4 separate regions of the Homo sapiens genome follow, and regions 1, 3 and 4 are each linked to region 2. The links are contacts of gene promoters, found by promoter capture Hi-C in blood cells and fetal thymus (Javierre and others, 2016). All regions are on one chromosome and are shown on one strand. The core of a region is centred on a gene start or on the middle of the fragment in contact, and the rest is flanking DNA. Distances in the headings are between cores, read along the strand shown. Region 1 overlaps WDFY4 (WDFY family member 4). Region 2 holds the start of PGBD3 (piggyBac transposable element derived 3). Region 3 overlaps WDFY4 (WDFY family member 4). Region 4 holds the start of WDFY4 (WDFY family member 4).

Evidence for each region. The method cuts DNA at HindIII sites, captures the fragments that hold promoters and counts their contacts. A CHiCAGO score of 5 or more calls a contact.
Region 1: a fragment that was not itself captured here is called in contact with the fragment with the promoter of PGBD3 in region 2 in 1 of 17 cell types (monocytes); the score reaches 5.6 in monocytes.
Region 3: a contact is called between a fragment that was not itself captured here and the fragment with the promoter of PGBD3 in region 2, in 1 of 17 cell types (M2 macrophages). The highest score is 5.2, in M2 macrophages.
Region 4: a contact is called between the fragment with the promoter of WDFY4 here and the fragment with the promoter of PGBD3 in region 2, in 3 of 17 cell types (monocytes, megakaryocytes and neutrophils). The highest score is 11.2, in monocytes.

Annotation. Positions count from the first base shown.
Region 1 is chr10:48,785,143-48,787,903 of GRCh38, forward strand. It overlaps WDFY4 (WDFY family member 4), which reads left to right. Exons shown (of 62, transcript NM_001394531.1): 20 at 1,497-1,728. Among named protein-coding and RNA genes, the nearest start is that of WDFY4, 100 kb to the left of the region's middle. The HindIII fragment of the contact is 1,518 bases long and covers 512-2,029 here.
Region 2 is chr10:49,522,562-49,525,721 of GRCh38, forward strand. It overlaps PGBD3 (piggyBac transposable element derived 3), which reads right to left and starts at 1,720. Exons shown (of 2, transcript NM_170753.3): 1 at 1,472-1,720. It overlaps ERCC6 (ERCC excision repair 6, chromatin remodeling factor), which reads right to left. Exons shown (of 21, transcript NM_000124.4): 5 at 1,472-2,216. The HindIII fragment of the contact is 2,591 bases long and covers 1,023-3,160 here.
Region 3 is chr10:48,839,913-48,842,942 of GRCh38, forward strand. All of the region lies in intron 39 of WDFY4 (WDFY family member 4), which reads left to right. Among named protein-coding and RNA genes, the nearest start is that of LRRC18, 98 kb to the right of the region's middle. The HindIII fragment of the contact is 6,798 bases long and covers 1-3,030 here.
Region 4 is chr10:48,683,190-48,686,178 of GRCh38, forward strand. WDFY4 (WDFY family member 4) reads left to right here and starts at 1,684. Exons shown (of 62, transcript NM_001394531.1): 1 at 1,684-1,812. RefSeq lists enhancers at 606-685, 1,616-1,915, 1,934-2,474 and a silencer at 906-955. The HindIII fragment of the contact is 16,271 bases long and covers 1-2,989 here.

The DNA of each region.
Region 1 (2,761 bases), core at 21-2,520, 740 kb before region 2:
AGCCATTGCGCCTGGCCTTAAACTGTTGAGTTTTAAGGGTTTTAGGGTTTTAAAATGTATACATATATGTGTATGTGTGTCTATATATATACATATATATTCTAGACACTAGTCCTTTGTTAGATATGTGATTTGCGATAATTCCTCCTAGTCTGTAGCATGTCTTTTAATCCTCTTTCACATGGGTAAAATTTCTGGTTTTGCTGAAATATAATTCATTAGTTTTTCCTTATATGACTCATGCTTTTGGTGTCGTTTGAGAATATTTTGCCTAGTCCTAGATCCTGAAGATATTCTCCTATTTTTTTCCCTAAAAATTTTCTAGTTTTACGTTTTACACTAGAGTTTGCAATCAATTATGAATTAATTTTTGTATAAGGTGTAAGGTTTAAGTTCATTTCTTTGCCTGTGGATGTTCAATTGCTCCAGCACCATTTGTTGAAGAGTCTATCATTTCTCAATTGAATTGCTTTTGCATCTTTGTCAAAAATCAGGTGAGCATTCTTATATAAGCTTATTTCTGGGTTCTCTATTCTGTTCCATCGATCTATGTGGTTATCTTTATACCAATGTCACACTATATTGATTTTATAGCTATATAATAAGTCATTATTAGAGTAGTTCCTCCCCCAAATTAATTCTTCTTTTTCAGAGTTGTTTAAACTATTCTAGGACCTGTGCCTTCCCATATACATTTTAGAATTAGCTTGTTTGTGTCTACAAAAGACCTTGCTGGAATTCTGATAGTCTACAAAAAACCTTTCTGGAATTGCATTATACTTACTGATCAACTCGAGGGGAAATAATATCTTTACTATAGTGAACCTTTCTATCCATGAACCTGGTATGTCTCTCCATTTATATAGGTCGTCTTGGACTTTTTCCATCATCACTTAGGAATTTTCAGTATACAGATCCTCTACTTGTCTTACTAAGTATTTCATTTTCTTGTGCATAATTGTAAGTGGTATTGTGTTTAATTTTAGTTTCTGTTTGTTTATTGTTAGCCTACACAAATAAAATTGATTTTTGTGTATTGATCATGTATCCTGTGACCTTGCTGAATTCACTTATTCTAGGATATTAAAAAAAATTCCTTGGAACTTTCTACATGGACATGATAGAAACAGTTTTATTTCTTCCTTTCCACTCTGTATGTATGTAATTATTGTTCATACATAAAACTATTAATTTGCCAATACTAGACATTCAGGTTCTTAGTAGAATGACTGAGATAAGAAAGGTGTACACTTTTTTGTTTCTTAATATTTTTTATCAAATTTATTTTCAAAAGGACAGTATCAGTTTTTTACTCCACATTTAATAACTTGTTTTGCGCATACTTCTGAGATTTGAGAATTATATTTTAGTTTTTTAGATAAAATACATTTTTACTATGAGATGAGAATAAGATGCATCATGTTATATCACTTTGTATTTACTTGATTAACTCTGAGATCAAACACTACTCACTCTTGTCCTTTTTATTTTAACAGATGTTATACATCCAGGCTCTACCAGGGCCTTTCCTTTCTATGGATCCATCCGCATTTGTGGATGTTTATGGATATATTGCTACTCCTCGAGTCTGGAAACAAAAGTCTTCATTAATCTGGCGTCTTGGCCCCACATACCTCTTTGAAGAAGCCATTTCAATGGAAACTCTGGAAGTTATTAACAAACTTGGCCCAAGATATTGTGGTAACTTCCAAGCTGTGCATGTCCAAGGTATGGAGTGTTTTGATTTACAATGTTCTTGCTGATATTAGTTTTTAAATGGACATCCAGTTATTTGTAGCAGATTTGCAGAGAATAAGCTCAGCGTTAAAGTCAGTCATTAGGGAAGACCTCTGTAATTGTATCATTATATATTTACAACCCAAGAGAAAATGTCACAGAAAAGGAAATGACAATATCTTTAGATTTCAACTCCAAAGCCCTAATGGGGAAGAGGTGGGTTGGGCAATACCATCAGCAAAGAAAGAGAGAAGAGAATGAGATAAATAAGTTACATTGCTTTTAATGAAGAAGCTTTTTAACTAAAGTATACTGTTGACTTCAATTATTAAACAGGCAGACAAAACATCCACATTTTCATTATTGATTGTTGTTATTCAAGCAGGGAGCATTGTTCTCTGTGCTCTGTCAAGTCAAAGGGGTCAGCTCCCATCTGGAAAGAATGATAAATGAATCTATGTCAGCAGCCTGTATGTGCTGAAGGGCGATTGAGTGCTCTTGAGCATTTCTGTCTCCAGGCCCATGATGTCTTTGAATTTCATTTCCTGTGGCAAATGGCACTGGCCAGAGCAATGGGACGAGGTCAGGTCTAGAGCCAAAGTCTTACCAATTCTATATTCATGGCACCTTTCTCTACTAGCACATTGGGTATCATTGACTTAGAGACCAGTATGTTAATTCAAACTGGGGTGTTTGCCGTGGCTGTGCAGCTCATTGAAAATTAGACATTTCAGATCAGCCTATTTCAAGTCAGGTTTCTTGTCACTTAAGAGTTTGGTTTTAGGGAATGAGGTTATATACTTTACAGATGTTTTAAGCTCTGGTAGTTTCGCACCTGGAGTGCATCTATTTCATGGTAAGACAAATCTTGGGAGAGTTCGCCACAGTTTTCTTTTTTTCTTCCTCTTCCTCCTCCTCCTCCTCCTCCTCTTCTTCTTCTTCTTCTTCTTCTTCTTCTTCTTCTTCTTCTTCTTCTTCTTTCTTCTTCTTTCTTCTTTCTTTCTTCTTCTTCTCCTTCTTCTTC
Region 2 (3,160 bases), core at 470-2,969:
TGCCATCAAATTAACTAAACCCACATTTAAAATTCAATCAAAATAAATTGCTCTTGATCAAAATACTGATATATTTTAAACATATTTAATATTGACCCAATTTAATTGGAAAAATATATATTGCTCCATTTATAATCAATATGTTGAGATTAACACTTTTATTAATTCCTTGCAGTAGTTAAGAAAAAGTCTGACACCGCTCACTGTTCAAGAGTACTGGGCAACATTCCTCAAACAACTTCACAGGTAATAAACGTGCACAGAAACGAAAGCTGTGCTGAGGGATGACAAATATAAGCCAGCCCTCATCTGTGCATTACTACATAAGGTGCTACTAGAATGTGAGTGCCGCAACTCTAAAGAACAGGATTTAAGTCACAGGTCCTCAAATTACTGTTTAAAAGAATTGACACATCTATTTCGGAAAGGTTATGGAATGTCTGTAGTGTCTGGACGGGGGTTAATGAGCAGTTCTAAGTAACAAGAAAAAACACCAGGTCAACCTTCACTCACAAAGGCCAATAAATACAACAAACTAGGTCTCTTCACCTTGAGAAATAAGAAAAAACTGTTGAGGATTGGGAAAAAGCCATCCCACTATCAAGTATTTTAAAAGTAATAAGGTTCCTTTTTCCCTTTGACTTCCTTAGAGCTAAGTGAGCTCTAAGTCAAGGAGACTTGAAATGCGCGGCAGTAGCACAGTGTTCAGTGGGCCACCATGGGGAGGCCTGCAATACAGATTATTTTTCCTGGCTCTCAGAAAACGTGTGGCAATATGCAATTCAGACTTCATGTTTCACATGTTCACCTTCCCTTTTATGGTGCTTGCTTTATACAATGACAATGTCATGGAGCTAAAAGCCAAAGTCAGTCTCTAACATAAAAAACAACAGTGAAAAGAAAGGTATGCTGTGCATACAAAGTACACTTTTTGCATGATGGTGGCTTATAATTATGCAGATGACTATTTTCTCAAGACAAAGGAAGGATTTACAAAAGCAAGCTTATTCTTTCTATGCCAAAGCTTAAGTTTCAGCTCTTTTTTGAAGAAAAGTTCTCTAAAATTACTTTCCTGCTTCAAAAGGGAAAACAGAAACCCCTATCCAGTATGCATTAATTCACCCTTTTCTTTTTCCTGATACTCATTCTAGGGTGACTGTCGGTATAAAGGCGACACAGCTCACACTCAGCCCTCTGTATGCCTCTTGCCCCAGCCTTCCCTTAAGTTTTTCATCTTAGACTTGCCTCCAAATCCAACTAAAGACCTAGAAGTACATGCATTTGGGGCCAGCATCATTAAGGACTCAGGGGCCCCACTGCTTCTAGCAGGTTAAGGCTGCAGAAATCCAACCTCTGTATAATCGGGGGGGTCTAATATATTAAGCTGGATCTAGAATGCTTACATATTAATAAACCTGTCACCTAAGATAAAGCAAACAGTACAATGTATTTATAATCCCCACAGACCGACCTTAACCGCTGCTTATAATAATCTTCATCTCCATCATCTCGGTATCTTCCCACTTTCCGACCTCCTCCTCCTCCTTCTCCTACAGAAGCAGCTTCAGCTTCTTCCCCAGAACTTGGGAAAAAGTCATCATCAATCTCCTGCACTGGCACTTTCTTCTGCCGTTTCCCGCCCTTGGGCAGAGGCTTCAGCTCATAGTCAGTACCATCTCCAGACAGGTCCGCCTCTGCCCCCTCCACCTCGTCATCTTCCTCCTCTTCCTCCTCCTCTGTGGGGAAATACTCAGACTCTTCACCCTCAGAGTCTCCCTCTGCCTCTGGCCTCATGTCTGACTCCCAAGGTCTCCTTGCCTTTGGCAATCCCACTTTCCCCTGGAACTGCAAAGCCCTCTTCTGGAGTTTCTTGATGTGCTTTTTCAAACGCTCCTCTTTTTTGGACAGAACTCTGGCTTTCTTGTTTGGTTTGTTTTTATTTTGCACTGGGGCTGGAGGCGTGACTGGGGCTGGAGCTTTTCTAGCTGCTCTTTTATTACAACCTTGCTTCTTCCTTTCAAAAGACAGTTTTGCTTGATCTGCCAAATACTTTTCGAAGCCTGATGCTTCATTAAGCATGATTTTTCTGGGCTTTTTCTCCTGTTTCTGAGGGATCTGGGTACCAAAAGGTGTCATCTGGCCAGTGCGGATGAGCTCTTCCCAGGCAGTCTCCTGGACAGGCATGAGCATGCTGCCAAGACTGGATGGCCCCGGCTCTGAAAGAACAATAGCAATGCGTTTCGCACTAGCATGAAACTTTCCGAGGGTACAAAAGAAATGCTCACTCTTTCAAGAAATATTAGGCAGCTACAAATAACTCATATAAAAAAAGAATCATCCATGTACTAAAGCATGTTACATATGAAGGACAGAATAAAATTATAGCATCATGCTATATTTAATATATTCCTGTTCAAAAAGACAACTTCTCAGTAACTTTTCCCCAAAATATTTCACTATAAATATACTCTCTGCCATCCAAAGATAGGCTTATTACTGTATAAATACAGTTATAAATAGTCAAGTTTAGCTGTGTTTCCTTATCAGCTGAGTAGTCGTCCATGAGGAAGCAAGCTCCGAAGTTCTCACGTCATTGCTAAAACCAACATTCAGATGGACTTAAATTCAAGAGACAGTAAAACCAAAAACAGGGATCACCATGTACCTAAAAAGGAAAAACATAAATGTCAGCTCTATGCTGCCCAGCATGGCAGTTACCAGTCACCTGCAGCTATTTAAATTTAAATTACATTAAGTTAAAAACTCAGTTCCACAGTTGCATTTGCCCTTTTTCAAGTGCTCAAGAGCTACACGTGACTAATGGCTACTATAATGGGCAACACAGAGAACATTTTCATCACTGCAAAAAGGTCTATTGGACAGCAGCACTGTGTTAGATATGTGAAGTTAACTGACTTGAAGACATTACACCATAAGTGTAAAGTCACCAGAAAGTATCCCTCTTTCATTAGTTGAAATTCATCTCTGGCAAAATTACCACATAACCAAAATACCAAAAGACCTAAGGCTTAATAGGAAGGAATCCATATTCTAAAATCTACAATTCTTGCAGGCCAATGATACCCAGTTTTTCATTAAACTTGCACTGAAATAAAACATACATCTGAAAGTGCACAAATCATTAAGTGTAGAACTCAGT
Region 3 (3,030 bases), core at 408-2,907, 680 kb before region 2:
TGTGGTGGGCAATGCTGCCAAGGACCTCTTGGCTCTTGGTGCTTTTCCTGAGATAACTGACCCTAAAAATAATGCCTCTCTCCCAGTCTGGCCTGAGAGCTCTTCATCGTACTGTCTGGGCTAGGAATATTTCCAGACGGGATATCCATTATGCTCTGATTATGGTGGTATTTGGGGGCAAGGAAGGAACAAAAATGTAATGAAGTCTAGTGTTATTTTTTAAACCTCAAAAGTTTCTGTTTTCACTTCAACTGAAAGTAAAGTCTATGTGGCCTGTATCATTGCCCTCAGTCTTGCAGGCAGCCGTGCTTCCTACGCCACACCCAGAATGACCTTCCCCAGAGGGACAGAGTCTGGTGATGGAGGTGGGGACACACTGCAGCATCAGGGAAATTCAACCAGCCTGGGGCGGTGGGGAGGGGCTCCATTATCCTTTTAGGTTTTCTGGACACTCAACCAGAGCCTTCTCTCTCATTTTTGCTCTTCCCTTGACACACACACACACATACACATACACACACACACACACACACACCTCTCTCACGCACACACACACACACCCCCACTCTCTTTCTCTCTCTCTCACACACACACACGTGTATATGCACACCCCCACCCACACACACATAGACACATCCCATTGTGCAAGCAATTGACATTAGAATTCACCTATCACACCAGTGAGAAGGAAGCGGGAAGGAGTCTGATCAATTGCACCAGAAACTCAGCAGCAGAACTGAACAAGGACGAGAGTTCCCTACAGCCCAGATTTTGAAAAAGTGGCAACATCACCAGTACAGCATTAGTATCCAGAATAAGGGGGAAGGATAAGAGCTGGATGAAGAAAGACAGTGGTTTTTCTTTTTCCATTTTAAGGAGTCTTAAGTGTCTCTGGTCTATCACAAGTGTCTGTTATAGGAGTCTGAAAAATACATGTAAATGAACAAAGCAAACACTGATACCTTTAATGATGTTTCTTTACTGAGTGCATCATTTGTGAGACATCTTTATCTTCATAATAGAAGGATAATTAACATCACTAATTATCTAATTAAGTTCATTAAGCATCCACCAACAGAGCACCGTGAAGTTGACATTATGTTCTACTGTCAACAAATGCTTTTGATTTCTTAGGAAGTAATTAAAATGTAAATTAGCATACAATTATATGCACAGGGGAAGTTTTGAATCAGATATTCATTTCAAAATTGCTTAGAGCAACACAGTTTTTGTTTGTTTCTTCTTCAATAAAAGCAGTTATTTTGCTGCTAGTGGTATATATTAAAGTTTCCATTGGGCTGTTCAGCTCTTGAGTGGTAGCAAGGTAATAAGTACTATAAGACACAGACTGTTCCATTGATATATTTGTTACTGCACTTTGTGCTTTTTTCTTATTTGATCATTTTGTGCTTTTTTCTTATTTGATCATTTTATTTAATGTTTGTTTGTATTTGTGTCCTTCATGTTTAAACATATCACAACTGATTTTTTTTTTTTCGGAAAAGTTTCTGTAATTCCTGCCTTAAATTCTCTAGCTGAGCTTTCCCTTTAAAGGTATTTTAGGGCAAATCTTCTAATGTATGTTTTCTGTCAGGTTAGGTTCAGGGAGTATCATCCATGACTTGCTGAAAATAGGTTACACACATTCCCTTACCCATGCAGGAAAGAGAAACTGCACATATCAAACTTGAAGTCCAGCCATCCTTAGTTGTAAGCTCACATTTTCCTGCTTTCTTAGGGCAGAGAGCAGACACGGAGCTTGTGCAAGCCCTGTGAATCAATGGAATATTCTCCATCTGAGATCATGATGGCTTCTGATAAAATATTATAACTGGAATGGGCACACTGTAGTGCTAAACGCAGTAACCTTCTTAGATTAGGGGTCTTCCTGAAACATCACAGAGTCACTGCACACCTGCTGGGAACAGGCTACCCAAGATAGAAGCCAGCATGTTCAAGTCTCCATAGCTTTCATTTTTAAAACAATTCTGATTGAATCCTGAATGCCTATCTTTTAATAAAGCAGCTAGTTCAGTGGATGTGATGTCCACTCTGTTATCTTTGTACATGAAGATGCCGGACCACTTGAGCATCAAGCTGATGTCACCTGATGCAGATGAGAAGAGAAAGTCTCTACTCATGACATCAAACTCCCTCAACTTCTTCTTGGATGATTTTTCCAGGAATAATTGGTACTGGATCCAGGCCCCTCAGTTTTGTGTGGAGAAGATTTGAGATAAATGCAAAGCAAATACAGAGGTTTAAGAGAGACTGTCCTTTGTCCCCTTAAAAGGATCAGTGTCAGGGCCTGACTCTGAATAGAACTGGCAGAACCACTAACAGCCCATCAATGTGGGTGCGGGAAGCTATCCTGAGGGCCCAAGCAGAGAAAGACAGGCATCATCATTGCACAGCAGCTGGTGGTAGATGTGAAACCAGCTGGTCTGCGACAAGCAGTGTCCTCACTGCAGGGAATGGTCGCCTGTGCCAGAGACAGCAGTCGCCAGGTGTGTCCTGACTTCTGAGCTCTGCAGCAGGACCTGAGCTGTGGTGCGGTCCGCGGCTGCCCAGAGGAGGACGCCTTGTTCTCATTTGACTGTCCAGAGGGGCTTTCTCCTGCAAGTTCACTCGAAGGACAATGGCTGGGCTAGCAGAGACCCCGAACTAACAAAGGGACCCTGATGCTTAAACCGGATGATGCTGATCTTCTCCTAATGTGCAGCAAGCTCCTACCTCAGCTAGTTGATAAAAATTTCCTGTACCAGAAATGTTGGTTCTTGTTCTTAAACCTTATCTTAAAATGTAGTCTGCCATGTTGTGACTTAAGTGCAAAGTCCACACACTTAATGAATTATCAGTAGCTACAGTGACTTGCTTTGTCCATGGCTTGCTTGCCTATCTCCTGCCAGTCACACTCTTCCTGGTCTACAACTGTCGCTGAAGGAGGAGTCTGTCTCTCTACCATGGGTTCTGCAATCTGAGAGTGACCCAAATGCCATCTCTTTGACTGTTCTTTTGGCCATGCAGCCT
Region 4 (2,989 bases), core at 434-2,933, 840 kb before region 2:
GCGAGGTGGTGGGCGCCTGTAGTCCCAGCTACTCAGGAGGCTGAGGCAGGAGAATGGCGTGAACCCCGGGGGGCGGAGCCTGCAGTGAGCCGAGATCGCGTCACTGCACTCCAGCCTGGGCGACAGCGAGACTCCGTCTCAAAAAAAAAAAACCTCTCTTGCAAATATTATTTGATTTGTTCCTTCTAACAAGGCATTCATTCATTCTGCAAATAAGATGTCAATTATCTCAGTTAAGATAGTGAGAATTTCAACCTTGAGTTTCTAGCTCTGAATTTAGTGCTCTTTACCTGCCTGCTGCTGGCTACCCGGCAAGGTGCTGGGGTGGGTAGAAGGTAGGAGACCTGGGTGCAGGTGGGCCCTCCAGCAGACTTTGCGAGATCCCACTATGACAGACTCTCCGCGCTTCCTCTGGGCATTCACAGGCATGGGGTCCTGGCCTGTCCCATGCTGGCCACCCTTCCTGCCTCTGTGGAAGTTCCTCTGTCTAATCCGCTCTTACCATAGGCCTCTGATTTCAGGCAATATCTTCTTGTAGATTTTATTTATGATTTCATTGGTGACAATGACGAGGGGTTTTCATCATATACAACAAACACTTCACTGCAAATTCTCTAAGGTTTTCTCTTTCCCTTGGCTGGCACTGCATGTATCCTTTCAATTTCTCTTTTCTTTTCTTTTTTTTCTTTTTTTTTTTTTTGAGACGGAGCTTCGCTCTTGCTGTCCAGACTGGAGTGCAGCTGGATAGATCTCCTATTTTGGCTGCTGTCTACTGACAAGTTTGCACTGGTGGAGGTTGAGGTTTTGTGACAAATGTTATTTTCCTCTTTAAACCAATCTTGGAGCTTTACTCCATGTCATAACAAGTGATGTTGTTGCTGCCTCTCAGTCAGTCATGCATGGTCCACTGGTTTTGTGAGCTAGAGACAAGCGATGAGCTGCACTGAGGATCAAGGATCAGGCATTAGCGCTAACAAGTGCCCTTGCTCTTTGGCAAAATTCTCCTTTTACAGAGCACAAGCAGGATTGTGTGTGAATGGACATGCTTGTTTGTACTGTGGAGATGACGTTATGGATAGGTGACATGGATAATTCAGCCTAGTTTATATACTCAGAGGAATGAGAATTTGGAGTCTGAGTTTCAGAGACTTCCATTCTATGGTTTTAGATGTCCTCTCATCCTTGCCTCAGTGTTGGCCGCAGGAGGACTCCCCTCATTGGTGGTTCAAGTTCTATCTGAGGATGGGGGAGGAAGAAATCCAAGTGGGCAACTCTGAGCTTGGTGGGGTGAGGGCTGCCCAACCCATGCCATGTCCAGGGGTGCACTTAAACACACCTCTGATTAGATTCACCTAACACCATCATTGTTCTCATTTTGCCAGAGGCCCAGAGAGGAGAGGTGTGCACCAGTGGTCACACGGCTAGTGAAGAGGGGACACAGAATCCAGACCTACTCTTCTAGGGCTGGGCTGTACTTTCCATTTTGTCCTTGGCCCCAACCAGCACCGCTTGACCACGGAGGCTGCACAGCCAGCCCCAAGGGGCCTTGCTGCAGAACCCAAGTCACCCGCCAGAACTCCAGCAGCTCCGTGGTCGGCTGGAGAGTGGGCAGAGTCAGGCATCTGCCGGCTCTCCACTTCTGCTTTCTCCAGGAAATGAGCAGAGACCCAGCTCCAGTGATTCAGAGTGAAACGGCGCTGAGGACTGACGATGTGGGGCCGGGTCCTCTTCCCCCGAGCCTGAGGGGCTGCAGCTGGGGATAGGGGGCCCATGCCTTCTGATGTCTACAGGCGCTGACGGCCACCCCTCCAGGTAGGCCACCTTGCTCTTGGCCCAGCCAGGCCAGCCTAGAGGTGGGCATATGGGCGCCGCCTGTCAGCGTGGGGCCTACTGGCTGCCTCCTGGGAGGCTGACTATGGGGCACATGTGACCCAGTGCCTGGTTTGGGTTTGTGAATGTGGGAGAGGAGGTGAGCTGGGGAGCAGGAAGTGTGTGTGGCGTGGGGGGCCCATGTGGTCAGGGCCACTCCAGGGCCTGGGTCTGCCTGAGTGTGTGTCACTGCTGAAGTTTGGGAGTCAGGCTGGGCTCCAGCAGCACTCCTCGACCTCTGACGGTAGGTCAAGTCCTTTCTCGGGGTCCTGCTATGAAGGGAACCCTGGGAAGGGCTGACACGGGCTTTCCTGGTTGTCGAGGGGGCGGAGAGAGCAGGCCGACAGGACAGTGAGGCTCGCCCTCCAAGCTCCCTCATAGGCCTCTGAGGAGTGCAGAGTTGGAGGGCCATTTCCAACGGGCCTCAGAGGGAGCTGGTCTATCCCGGCCCTGTCATTACTCCACTGGGTTCTGGTAAGTAGGTGCCTCCCTGGGCTCACTTCCCTCATCTGAATTATTACAGCAAACCATTGAAACGCCTGCATTTTCTGCCTAAGCAGGGCCACCTGCTCAGTAAGGACTGATTCTTCTTTTCCCCTGAAATGAAACTTCTAGAACACTAAACCGATCCTTTGTCCCAACTCATCTAAAGTGTGGGGGGGCTGGTTTGATAACTAAGGGCTCTATGCATTACCCTTTCCATGGAGCACACTAATTTTAATATGAGTTTATGTATAGTCATTCATTTAGTTATTTAACAAATAGGTATTGAGAAACCACGCCCTGCCAGGCTCTGGTCAAAGCGGACAGGGGTCTACGGTGCTCAGCAGGTGGGAGAATAGCAGGTAGGGTGGGGGTCTTGGGAGGGTGGGGATGGCTCTAGTCTTCTGAGAGGGGACCTGTGAGGGAGGCCGAGTCCTGTGGGTTTCTGAGAAGTGTTCTTGATAAGGGTCTGGAGGAGGAGACCTCGTGGAGGTTGGTGTGGCAGAGCCGGGTAAGGGGCATGCCTGGGGTTCTGGCCAGAGAGGTAGGGAACAGGGTCAGGTCAGGGAGGCCCTTCCTGTCTGTCCATCCTGAGCACATGGGCTATTCTTTCATGAACTTGGAAAGATTTTCTGTG